Regions from separate parts of the Homo sapiens genome. Here region 2 is linked to region 1. The links are contacts of gene promoters, found by promoter capture Hi-C in blood cells and fetal thymus (Javierre and others, 2016). All regions are on one chromosome and are shown on one strand. Each heading gives the region's core, a stretch centred on a gene start or on the middle of the fragment in contact. The rest is flanking DNA. Distances are from core to core; before and after follow the strand shown.

Region 1 (6,707 bases), core at 2,740-5,239:
GAAGCTGGCTTATGAGTAAGGATTTAGTATATTATTCTCTTTACTTTTGTATATATTAAAAACTTTCCATAGTAAAAAAAATTAAGGATTACATTGAAACTACTCTTTGCTATGTTGTACCACTCTTTGGCAAAATAAAATAAAAACAATAAAATCCTAGTCATAATAGGCCACAAGGTTCTCTGCAATGATAGTAACTACAGGTGTTCTGGCTTATTAATTTCTCTTACTTCCTTAAAATATTCCAGTCAAATAAGCCTGCCTGTAAGATAAATGGGACCAATAATGAAAGACAAAATCTACGTGAGAATAGTACAATCAAGAGGCAGAATGGTTATAAAAGTTAATGTCAGACACCTATAGTACAAGCACTCCTAGGAAAGGTAATCTATTACTTGGGGTATAAACAAATACCAGATTTGTTACATGCATTTTAAAAACACTAATTGAGAATTACTCTGTGCAAGGCATTGTCTCAAAGATTATACTTGTCAGGATGTATATACTATTATACCAGCTGCTGTGCAAACATCCCTACATCACAATGTCTATGAACAAAGTTTTATCTCACTTGCTCAAGGTTCAATGCAGATATTCCTGGTCCAATTTTTCTCTTTTGAGCAGTAACTCAATTTGAGTTCCTTTCACCTCAGAGTCCTTTGCCATGTAGAAAGGAAAGAGAGGGCTGGGCACGTTGGCTCATGCCTGTAATCCCAGCACTTTGGGAGGCCGAAGCGGGTGGATCATTTGAGGTCAGGAGTTTGAGACCAGCCTGGCCAATACGGTGAAAATCTCTCTCTACTAAAGAGTACAAAAATCAGCCAGGCGTGGGGGCAGGATTCTGTAATCCCAGCTACTCCGTAAGCTGAGGAAGGAGAATTGCTTGAACCTGGGAAGCAGAGGCTGCAGTGAGCTGAGATCGCACCACTACACTCCAGCCTGGGTGACAGAGTGACTCTGTCAAAAAAAAAAAAAGAATGAATGAATGAAAAAGAAAAAAAAAAGGAAAGAGAGAGTGTGTGCAGATAATCACTCAGGATGTTTTATGGTCAACCTGGAAGGAAAAAAGCTCTTCACAGCCCAAACCTAGATCCAAGTATACCTAGAAAATGTCTCATAGCCATGAACCCAGAAAGAAAACTAGATACTGGGATGGAGGTGGGGAGTGGGGCGATGCTCTGAAATGTTCTACCACAAAGGTGATCCCAATCAAGGTCTAGTGGGAAAACAGACATGCAAACAGACACAAGTGCCCCAAGTGTCATAAAATCAGTAATAACGATATGAATAGGGTGCTCTGGACGCTCTGCTGAAGGAGGTAGGATTTTAAACATTTTTATCAGCTATTGGTACAATTTCATAAATGTGCTTGAAACTTAATTGGTTTAGTCTATTAAATTTGTAATTGTTTTTCCACAAAAATTGTAAGCCCGTGTTCCCTAACTCAAAAACAGAGCCCTGCTGGCAAGCCTGGTTCGGCAACTGGAATCAGAGCGTGGGTGTTTATCAATACTCGTTATATGTGCTTACTGGAACATAAATTCACCTGGAATGGGGATCTCTCAGCGTGAAGGGATTTTAATAGGATTCATTCATACATTTGTTCAACATTTTATAAAGACATCTGTCCCCAAAATTCAATTTACAATTTTTACAACATTTTACAAAGACTTTGATCTCCAAATCTCCATTTACAAATTATTTTACAAGAATTTACATTCATTGCAAAGGTTTCTTTCCAGAGTTTTTTAAAGGTCATTTTTGCCTTGGGTCCAAAACTGTTACTTTTAGATGAGAGGAGAAGCAGCTGAGGTTTACATGTGGAGACTGTGTGTGATGAAAGGGCAGGACACAGCGGCCCCTGGATCCTAATTCAGACCAGCCTGCCTCTGGCAATAGGAAAGTCATTTGTTCCTGCGAGCCCGTATCATAATCTGGCACAACTGGAGGTTAGAACAATCCTTAAAACTCTTTGGCTGTGGGATTCTAGTTTGCCATCTTAATTTATACATTCTATTTCGGCGCTGATTCTCCAGCCCTTTCCCTTTTAAGTGATCCTAATTAGAAAACACACAGGAGGATCCTTCCAGGATTTAAAAGCTGCTGGGATCCCCTCTTTGATCTCCCATCTGAAATACGGACGGTTATTGTTTCGCGTTTCCCCCCACTCCCCCCGACCCGCACTCCAGTGACAATTATTGGCATTTTAGAGCCTAGAGATAGAAATAAGATGTCTGACAGGCCCGGCTGCCTAAAAATCCAAAGCAAGCACCCCTCCAAACATCTCCCCTCCTCCCTCGCACCGTTCCCCACCCAAAAAAAAATAATGAAAAGGAAAAAATATAGCAGACTCTATAAACAGCTGCCAATTTATTAATAAGATGCTGGAGTTAGTTAGAATTTTAAAGATGCTTCAGGCATCTTTAAGGAGGCAGCAAGCCCTTCCTCTCCCGGGCACAAATAAGCCCAACCAGCAGACCCTACCTTAACTACCGCTATTTAAATTCTGCAAAGTACCGCGGTGACCGGAGGAACCTTCGCAAAGGCGCAAGGGTTTGCCTTAATTTGGTTAATACTTGGTTGAGATGCCTTGCGAGAACTCGAAAGCAGTTGAATTAAGAATCTTAAATCTTTCTAGGACGCGGAGAAGGAAGGTAGGAAATTGGGGAGGGGGAAAGGGAGGCGTGCCGTCAAGAAAGAGTTGATTATTTATTTAATTTCATTCACCAAGGGAGAATTCGGAGGCTCCATCCCGGAGGCACTGGGGTCCGGGACGCGGGAAAGGCTTGGAAATGTGCGACGCGGCTGTGTGCGAACGCGTGGACTAGGTCTTGGCTCGCTGGGAGGGAAGGGCTGGGCCGGCGCTGGGGAGGAGGAAGGGAGGGAACGGGTAGGAGGAGGGGAAGCGCAGTATAAAAGTCCCGGCCGGACTGAGCGTCCGCTACTCCGAGTCACTTCGGTAAGGCGGGAGCCCGAGCAAGGTCAAGGAGGGAAGTGCGCGGTGCCACGGACCGACACAGTTCGCTCTAGCATCTGACGCTCGGACTCCGCGCCCTCAGCCGGATCCCAGAGCCCTTCCATTCGCCAACCGCCCACTGCAAGGCATGAGCCGCACGCGGGAGCCCGAGGCTGCAGCGCGGTCATGAGGCGGTGGCCCGGGATCGACAGCTGCGCGACGCCAGCCCCCAAATCCCCTCTGGGCGCGGCACCCCCGGGATGAGCCCCCCACAGAGGCAAGCCCACTAGAGCTGAGATTCACTCCGAGTTCCTGAGCGCCTGAGCCGCGGGCACTGCGTCTCTGCAGCTTCCAGCCAACACCTGCGCCCGTGACCAGACGAACGCCTAGAGAGTCGGACTCCCCTCCCTTCCCAGGCTCTACGGGGCGCCGCGGATCCGCGAACAGCCGTGCCCGGCTAGCGGGCGGCCCAGCAAGTGTCAAGACCCTTCGGAACGACACTTTGGCACTCCTCCTCTCCCCCGACTGCTTCAGGCAGGGGTCGCAGGCAGACGCATGGCTTGTCCGGCGCCCCCTCCGTTTTCCATCACTGCAACTCCAGCTCCAGTTTGCCAATAAAGGTTTCTAAAGCAGCCCAGGCACCACCCCACCCACCCACAGCCCCGAGCCTCAGTGTGCACAAGGGCTCTACCCGCGCCCGTCACAGCGACCTCGGCAGCGGGCACTTGGTACAGCCCGGCAGGCTGACGCTGCCGCCGAGGGCGCCCCGGCTACCGCCAAACCGTGACAACCTCGGTGTGCCCGGGGCCCCCATCTGGAACCGGCCCTCCCCGGGACTCCGAGTGCGGGGCGGCGCGGCAGGCGGCCCCGAGGAGCGCGGAGAGTAGTGGAGGTGGCTTGCCGGGTGAGTGGCTCGGGGCGGCGAGGGCGGGGGCGCCAAGCGTGGAGGTAACTCCCGGCCGCAGCTGAAGCCCTCCTACTCCTCCTCCTCCTCCTCCTCCTCCTCCTCCTCCTCCTCCTCCTTCTCCTTCTCCTCCTCCTCCTCCCCGCGCTTCTCTGGCGGCCGCTCCCGCTCCAGCTGCGGCGCCGCGGCCACATCTGGGGCGCCCATGTGCGCTCGGGGGCTCGGCTGCGCCCGCCCCGCCGCCGACCCCGCAGCCCCCTGCCAGCAGGGTGGCCTCCGGCCCGGCCCGGGTCCCGGGCTGTCCCGGGACCCAGTCTCCGTCTCCGCCGCCGCCGCCGCCAGGCAGCGCCGGGGCTTGCTCCGCAGCCGGCTTGGACACCCCCGGCCTCGCGGTGGCTCCGCCGTGGTGCGGCGGCGGCGGCGGCGGCGGCGCCGGCAGCTCCTGCTCCCCCGGCCCCGCACACCCCGCCGCGCCCAGCGCCAGCCCCGCGGGCCCGGGAAGCGGAGCCCTGGCGGGAGCCGAGGCGGGAGCCGCGCTGCCGGGCTCCCGGGCTCCTACTCCTCCTCCCCCGGCGTCACCGCCGCCGCCGCCGGCCGCCGCGCCGGGTCCTAAAGCCGCGCGTCTCAAAAGGATGGTGCGCCTGGCGGCCGAGCTGCTGCTGCTGCTGGGGCTGCTGCTGCTCACGCTGCACATCACCGTGCTGCGCGGCTCGGGAGCCGCCGACGGGCCCGACGCGGCCGCGGGCAACGCCAGCCAAGCCCAGCTGCAGGTGAGTGCGCCGCCGGAGAGGGCCGTGCGCGGCTGCGGGGACGGTTTGTGGGGCGGGGGTGCTGAGCTAGTGCCGGGTGGATGCAGGGAGGCAGGTCCCCTGCCCCACCTAAGAGCAACTGTTTTGGCAGTAGTTTTGCCCGGGCCACTTGACTTAGGCAGAGGCGGAGCGGGGGCACGTGCCTGGAGGCTGCACCCGGCTTCCAGGTCTGCGGGCTGCGCTCCTTCAGTTCTGTCTGTCACGGGTCAGGTGCGGGGTTGGTGGGGAGGTGGGAAGGAGCGAGGTTTGGGATGAGCAGAGGAAGTGTGGAGAATGTGCTTGCTTGGGGGTGCTACCAGTCTTTCGTTGCCCTTCGGAGGCTGAGTAATGTTACTCGAGGCTGGAGGGACGCAAGGAGACTTTATAGGATGATATCCCTGAAGTCTTTGGGAGAAAGAACTCCGGGAGTCTACCCCTTTAGGAAGCAATGCCAAAGGTCAGGACATAATTTCCCAAGGAGAATAGCCAGGCATCCCCTCCTCACCCTCAGGGTTCCCTTGCTTCCAGTGTTCCTCTTCCTCCGGGAGCCTCGCCTGAGGTTCCCCCCTCCCCCCTTGTGCCCCCTTGGTCATGGGGAAGGTGCAGAGTGAAGGCACCGGTAGTGATTTGGGCCAGGGTTACCTGGGGCTTTTAAACTTGTAGCAAAGTCTTTCTCCCAAGGATCTTCCCCGTTGAAGGTCGCTTTAGCAATGGGATTCTGTTTATCCATTTCAACTTCAGGGCAAGGAGAGGGCGTAGTGGACGGTCAGACATAATGTGAGTTCTGACTTAGGAATAGAATTGCCCAGCTAGGCATTTCCTGCCGCTATGTTAGCGCCTTTCCTTGAGTCTAGGGGTGGGACAACTGTAAACTTGGAGCATAGGCAAAAGCAAGCAGGGATTTTCCCAGGAGGCAGAGGGGATTCTCTGGCTCCTAAAATCTGCTCAAACCAGGCGCGGTGGCTCACGCCTGTGATCCCAGCACTTTAGCAGGCAGAGGCGGGTGGATCACCTCAGGCCAGGTGTTGGAGACTATCCTGGCCGACATGGTGAAACCCCGTCTCTACTAAAAATACAAAAATTAGCTGGGCGTGGTGGCGCACGCCTGTAGTCCCAGTTACTCGGGAGGCTGAGGCAGGAGAATTGCTTGAACCCGGGAGGTTGTAGTGAGCTGAGATCGCGCCACTGCACTCCAGCCTGGGCGACAGAGCGAGACTCCGTCTCAAAAAAAAAATAAAATAAAATAAAATAAAATAAAATAAATAAATAAATAAATAAAATGAAATAAGCATTATTCATTGTTCCCAAAGGCCTTTATATTCATTGTCTTTGATAATTCACTTTTTACATCTTTATACAATTTATTGCGAAAAACTTTACCGTAAAGAGAAAACTAATAAAACACTTCCATTGTGTTTACTACGTGCCACCGTTTTAAGTACTTTACAGAATTTAACTCACTTAATTTAACCATAATCTTACAAGACATGGTACTGTTAATATAGCCTCATTTACAGATGCAAAAACTGAGGTACAGAGAGGTTAAAAAACTTGTCAAAGTTCAGACATTCCAAACTCTTGATTACACCAAATTTTGTCTCTACCAGGATAGACTAAAGCAAGGTGATTATTGCACGCAATTACAAAACAGTAGAAAAGTACACACCCCAAAGCTTAAAGTTGTTTTAACTTTGAGACATTTCTAAAAATGTCCTAACTTTGTGGGTTCTCTCACCTTCTCCCGTGGGTAGATAAGTACAGTGACAGACTGAGGGAATTTCTATGCGGAAGTTGAAGATGCCACCATCCTATAGACTGGGGCACCCACCAATCTAACACTGCGGAGATAATTCTTAATATCTTCAAGATTTCTGGAAGTTATATTTTATACATGATGCTTTCTTTCCTCATGGACTCATGAAAAGCCATAAAAATGATGTTCTGTGGAAAAGTAAATTTGGCAGATTACTTTATGAGGTGTTTGCTATCATTAGAATAACCCGGGGTTGGCCTTTTCCGCTTGAACAGTAAGGTAATGAGAGAAGCAGCTGGTGGAAGT
Region 2 (6,281 bases), core at 3,479-5,978, 530 kb after region 1:
TTATTATGTTATCCATTTAGCAAAACTTTATGAAGAACCTACAGCATAACATCAGGGCCCAACTTTTCAATTTTGCAATAATGAAACTGATGAAAGCAAGTAGTATGAATGAGTTCTGTCAAAATAACACACGGAACATGTGCAACGAAAAGTGACAGCTTACTAGCCAGACAGTTAGAATACAGATAGAATAATGAAGGACAACCACAAATAGAATAGCGAAAGTTTTGCTTTCCAGACCAAAGAATTCACAACTTCAAACAAATCAGCATAGCTGTGGGCTATGGGAAAACAATACATGTGACAAGTTTTCTTTTCTTGAGCTCACTTGTGGCAGATTGCAAGTTTAAGGCATAGTTATAAAAAGAAAAAAAAGGTATTAACAGTATAGTCTAGAAACGGTGGCTACACATGCAAACAGCGGGAAGGACTGTATTAACAGAATCATTCTAGATCTTTGCAACCAGAGGATCTTGCTGATTTACATATTTTAACTGGAATCCTGTGCAGGGATGTGGGGGGGAACCAGATCAATTAACCTGAAACTTCATAAGGCATTGCAATTTTAGCACTTTCTGAAACTACTAGTAGAAAAATATCCTTGCTTTTTGAGTTAAATCTTTTTAAAAAGCTTCTTGGAAAGTCTCTTTTTAAAAATTAAATCGGCTGGGCGTGGTGGCTCATGCCTGTAATCCCAGCACTTTGGGAGGCTGAGGTGGGTGGATCACAAGGTCAAGAGATCGGCCAGCCAACATGGTGAAACCCTGTCTCTACAAAAAATACAAAAATTAGCTGGGCGTAGTGGCCCACGCCTGTAGTCCCAGCTACTCAGGAGGCTGAGGCAGGAGAACCACTTGAACCTACGAGGCGGAGGTTGCAGTGAGCCAAGATAGCACCACTGCACTCCAGCCCAGGCGACAGAAGAATGTCTCAAAATAAATAAATAAAATAAAATAAAAATAAAAATAACAATAAATCAATATTATTAAGAGAGAAAACAGTCTATCAAATAATTCAAGAAGCACTGAGAAAATTACCAGCAATCACATGGAGGAAATGTATTAGCATCATTTTTAGATAACTCTTAAGTGCTTCTCATTTTTATTACACATTTCAAACATGACTCCAATCTTTTTGCACAGTATGAAGTTATAGCTTATTACCTTACAAACGCCTCATAGTCAACCTGTTAACTGGATGATTCAAGGAAGGAGCTCACGCTTAGGTTTTAAAATTTTAGCCACTTACCAGCTGTGTGACTTCGTACAAGTTACAAGAGTGCACTGTGACCTGGTTTCCTCCCCACCACCAAAATCTGAGGCAAACTACAAATTCTTTTAGCTTATTTTTAAGTTCAGGTTTTCCATTTAATGCCCTCTTCTATACTCGATTCAAAATTTTAAACATCTGGTTATTTTAAAAGTTCTGGCCAAAAAAAATTTTTCTGAATATATTTCAAATAATGAGCACATTGGCAATAAATGAAAATGGAGCCAAAACTAAACAGTGAACAGGTTTTGAGACATCTAAAAATTAAAATGCTTGAAACTGGGCTGCCTAACAAAATGAATGCCCAACTAATTCAAAAACATTTTTACTTCTAAATAAAAAGAATGAATAATACAATGGCCACATATGCATGTCACTGATGTCTCTGTTTAAGCTACTCAGTGGAACAACTGAACAGAGAAATGGAGATAAAATAAATGTGGCAGGGGAGGACGAAGGATAAAGAACAGATACCAGAATAAAAATGAAATTACAACTGTGAAGAGTGGAGGAGGAAAAAGCAGAACAAAGGAAGAGCTACACCCCTACTCCATGCCCAAGGAATAGGAGTCAAAAAGGGACTCCTCTTGCTGTGTGAGACAGTAAGAGAAGTCCTTGCCAGCGTGAGACAGTAAGGGGCACCTCTAGTTTTCTGGTTTCCATGTCTCCTTCCCAAGAGTAAGTATTCTAGAACTCTGTGTGCTCCTGCCAAGATATCCCAATGACATTCACATCCCTACCACTATGAAAGCTTTAAGACGATCAAAACTAATCTCAAAATCCCTTTATTCATACTTAAATCTGCCACCACATGAAGTTTACAATTTCCAAATCATTCCTTCTCCCAAAACAATGCCGAACATCCTCAATGACTAAAGCCGTTCTACTCACTAGTCAGTTATTAGTCATTAACAAAAGCCCCCTTACCCATTTATCTGCTAAGTGGAGTTTCACTAAAACTTAGCTCTCTTCTGAGGACACTGCTTCCCCTCTATCTCTTTTAGCAGGTGAATTTTTCTCTCCCACTGTCCCTGCGACTCACTGCCAATTCCCATCCACTGGCTGGCCCTCCTCCCCAGTGCCTCCACTCTGAATATCATATTTTCAGGCTATACTAGATAGACTACACTCTTCCTTATTGTAGATATCTTTTTTGTAAGCAAATTCTTCCAGAACCTGATGTAGATATCTAATGACCACAGATGCTCTTCTCATTTTAATTTTAGCTCACTGCCACTCTTTCCAATACTCCTGTCATAATTCTTGGTGACTTCAGTATCCACACAGATGATCCTCTGAACGTACCTTTGGCCTCACAGTTCACTGACCTCCTCTCCTATGGTTCTACACTCTATCCCATCTCAGAAATTCACTGCCAGGATTGTAAACAGGTCATGTGATTACCCAAAGTTGCAATCCCACCACAATCTTACTTTCCAAGCATCCTACTCTTCTACCACCAGCTGCAATCTTTTCATTTTAACCCATTTATGCCTGAGGTTGCAATTTTTTGAATTTTTGCAATCAAACTTTGAGCAGTAGGATATAAATAACTTCCACATGCTTAGCATTCCAATAATGGACCACTAGGCATAAGTTAATCTCTCTAGTAGTCTGAGACTAACAATTCCCTTGGTGTGAAAGTGGCAACGTGCTTATAATGGAAGCATGTCTTAGTTTTTGGAAGTTACATTTTGAAGTGCTTTTTTTTACGTGTCATGGTGCTTGCAACTTTCTATCAAATATTTTAGAAAAAGAGTTGCCTCTACTTACTGTCTCTAATTCTTCTCTTCCCATTCTTCCTTCAAACCATACTACTTTCATCCCCCATCATCCCACAAAAACCATTCAATATCACCAGTGAGCTTCACACTGCTAAATCCAATGGTCATTCTCAGCCTGTATTTTATTGACCCATATTCTCACTGAAATGCCTTCTTTATTGGCAGGCTGAATACCCCGCAATTCTGAATTTCCTCCTGCTTCTCTGATAGCCTCTCCAGCTGCTCGGAATGGTCCAGGCTCATGTCCTCTACCTCTAGATGTTAGAGTGCTCCAAGGATCAGCTTTTGAACCTTTCTTTTTTACCTATATTCACTACCTTGTTGTTCTTATTCACTTTCAGAGATTTATACAATGAAGATTCTCTAATTTATATCTCTACCAGCCCTGTACTCTTAACTGTATAACCAACTGATTCCTTGGCATGTCTATTTAGGTATCAATGGGCATCTTGAACTTAATGTATGAAAAAAAAAATTCTTGATGCTCCCTTGCAAACATGTTCCATCCACAAGCTTCATTATCTGAAAATTACTCCAACAGCCATTTGATTGATCTCCCCAATTTGGTCCTTGCCCCCCACTTTAATCTACTTATCTATAGCAGCAAGAATGATCCTGTTAAATATAAAAGTCAGATTTGACTGCTCCTGAGCTCAAAACTCTCCAGTGGTTTCTCATCTCAGTCACAGAAATTCATGTCTTTATAATGGCCTACAAGGCTTTCATGTCTGGCCCCAAACTACCTCTCTGATCTCAGTTACTTCTGTCCTCCACTGTAGTCATACTGTTCTCCTTGGATTCCTCAAACACAAGAGACAAAGTATAGCTTCAAGGATACTCCTATGCTACTTCCTCTGCTCACACAGTCTTCCTGGGCCAGGCTCACTCCCTGACCTCTACTTTCTTTAGTTCCTGGTCAAATATGTTTCTTATATATCTGTCATCTGTTTAGTTTCTCCTTCACCGGAGTATAAGATCTGTGAGTTCAGGGATTTTTATGTTTTGTTCACACAGTGTATAGAATAATTCCCGGCACAGAGTAGGTATTCAGTAAGTATTTGATGGAGTAAGGAAGAGAAGTTGGGGTTCTGTAGAGTGCTGAGTAGAAAAAAGACCAGCTATCCATTTCACTAATATCTATTAGGCCAGAGATAGCTAAGAAAAACAGGACTTTTACCATAATCAAAAATTTAAGATTATAAACAAACATGCCATTATTTATTTCTGGATGGAATTTCATATATATTGTTTATATTCAGCTTGCATTATCTACAAAAAATATTATGTAGATTAACTGGACTATTAATACAGGGGAAGTTATATAAAGAGTTAAAACTGATTACACTTCATTTATACGTGTATTAGAAATTCCTCAACGAGGTACATTTCTTGATGAAGGCCCAACTGGCTAATTATATGCATCACCTTATCTACTCCTTAGTAAGTTGGCAGGATACCTTTAGCAACGCATTGAGATAGGAAATACAACTTCACATACATCAAAATAATTAAGTATAACTTTCTTTAAAAATTTTATAATTCAACATTTTTACTTATTTATAATCCTAATTAATAAAATTGTATTATTACATTTCCATAGGAACTAAAATATTGATAGAAAGAGTAGCTCATTCCAGTTGTTATGCCCACAAACCTGTTATCAGTTCCCTTAATACTTACCCTTAAGAAATTAAACTCCTCATGTTACTATACTGTATAACCCAATGTAAAAAGGTAGAACGTTTAAATAGTCTAAACTAGAATTTCTTCTGAAAAATCAAACCAAACCACAATAAATGTTAGTGATTAAGAGTACTTATTTTCCTGAAGAGGTTAATATTTTGGAGAGTCAAGCCACAGAACCAATGAATGATACGGTATAATCTCATACTGACCCTCCGTGGTTTACTGAAGCATAACATCAAAAAAGTCCTGAGGTTCAGGGTAACTGTTACAGAAAACACACATTTCTTAAGACATAAATTCACTGAAATACACGTCATGAAAGTACTTTGTAGTTTATAACGTTTGTAAGTATCTCTAAGCAAGAAAGTGGTATTATTAGTTCCAATTTCCATATGAATAAACTGAGGTACAGAAAGATTGCTCAATGATCTTATATGTATAGCACACAGAAAAACCCTTTACACTTGCATGTGCATGCGTGCATGTACATAAGGATTCACAGATAACAATACCTCATTAGGGGCCTTCAAAATATTACAGTTTAAGACCTTTGAAACTCATACATTAAAATATCAATTTTCCCCTATTCAATTAAAAGTAAAAAATATATACCCAATGTTGACGATAATTCCGTGAAACTGACACTCTTACTGATTGTTGAAGGTATTATAAGCTGGTACAACACTTCCAGAAAGCAATTTGGCAATAACTTCAAGACACAAAAAGTATTCATGCCCTTTCTTAGTAACTCTATTTCTGGGAAACTATCCTATGAAAATAATTCAAAATATGGAAAAAGCTATAGGTTATTTATAACATCCCAGATACTTGGCATCTGGGATTTAACATTTGAGGTTTTGACACTGGTAGTTTTAACAGCTTGTGAGAGAACCACAGGTTGATCTACAGCACATGTAGAGTTGCTGTGTGAGCAAGGAAGTCACGTAACTAACTAGTGAGTTAAGCCTGAATGCTAGGCATCAGCTTCTCATTGTGGCCTGGTTGTTCTCTACTAGTCCTGACATGCTTGGAAACATTTCTAGGCTGGGAGAGATGAAAAACACACCTCTGTTTTAAAAGTTTTTAAAATTAAAAGGCCCTAAAAAGGCAAGCCAATTACTTGGCTGCTCATGAAAATGAAGAAATTTAAGAAAAGCTTGTTATTTGTGGGTTTGAGATCTGTCCTATTTTTTTTTCAATGTTATAAGTCCACTGTAGTGAAAGATTAGAAATCTGATTGCATATTCAACAACAGAGAAATGGTAAATTAAACTGTAATCTTCTTAACCAGTGGTTGAATTAGGATAGTGGAATTACAGATGATAATCTTTCATTTTACATTTTCACTTCATAAGGTCAACATTACCCTAATACCAAAAACCAATACGAGGAATGAAAACTACAGATCATATTCCTCTTTGCCACAAGTACAAATATTTTTAATAAAATATTACTAAATTAAGCTGGGAATATATAAAAAGATAAGGTACCATGACCAAGGTGGGGTTTATCTGAGGAAATATAAGCAATGCTTATAACTTC

Evidence for each region. The method cuts DNA at HindIII sites, captures the fragments that hold promoters and counts their contacts. A CHiCAGO score of 5 or more calls a contact.
Region 2: a fragment that was not itself captured here is called in contact with the fragment with the promoter of ISM1 in region 1 in 2 of 17 cell types (activated CD4 T cells and naive CD4 T cells); the score reaches 6.7 in activated CD4 T cells.

What each region holds. Positions count from the first base shown.
Region 1 is chr20:13,217,285-13,223,991 of GRCh38, forward strand. ISM1 (isthmin 1) reads left to right here and starts at 3,990. Exons shown (of 6, transcript NM_080826.2): 1 at 3,990-4,630. The coding sequence starts at 4,493. It also overlaps a transcript of TASP1 not described here. RefSeq lists silencers at 3,773-3,892, 4,352-4,421. The HindIII fragment of the contact is 8,964 bases long and covers 1-6,319 here.
Region 2 is chr20:13,751,058-13,757,338 of GRCh38, forward strand. The region is part of intron 9 of ESF1 (ESF1 nucleolar pre-rRNA processing protein); the gene reads right to left. Among named protein-coding and RNA genes, the nearest start is that of ESF1, 31 kb to the right of the region's middle. The HindIII fragment of the contact is 2,329 bases long and covers 3,565-5,893 here.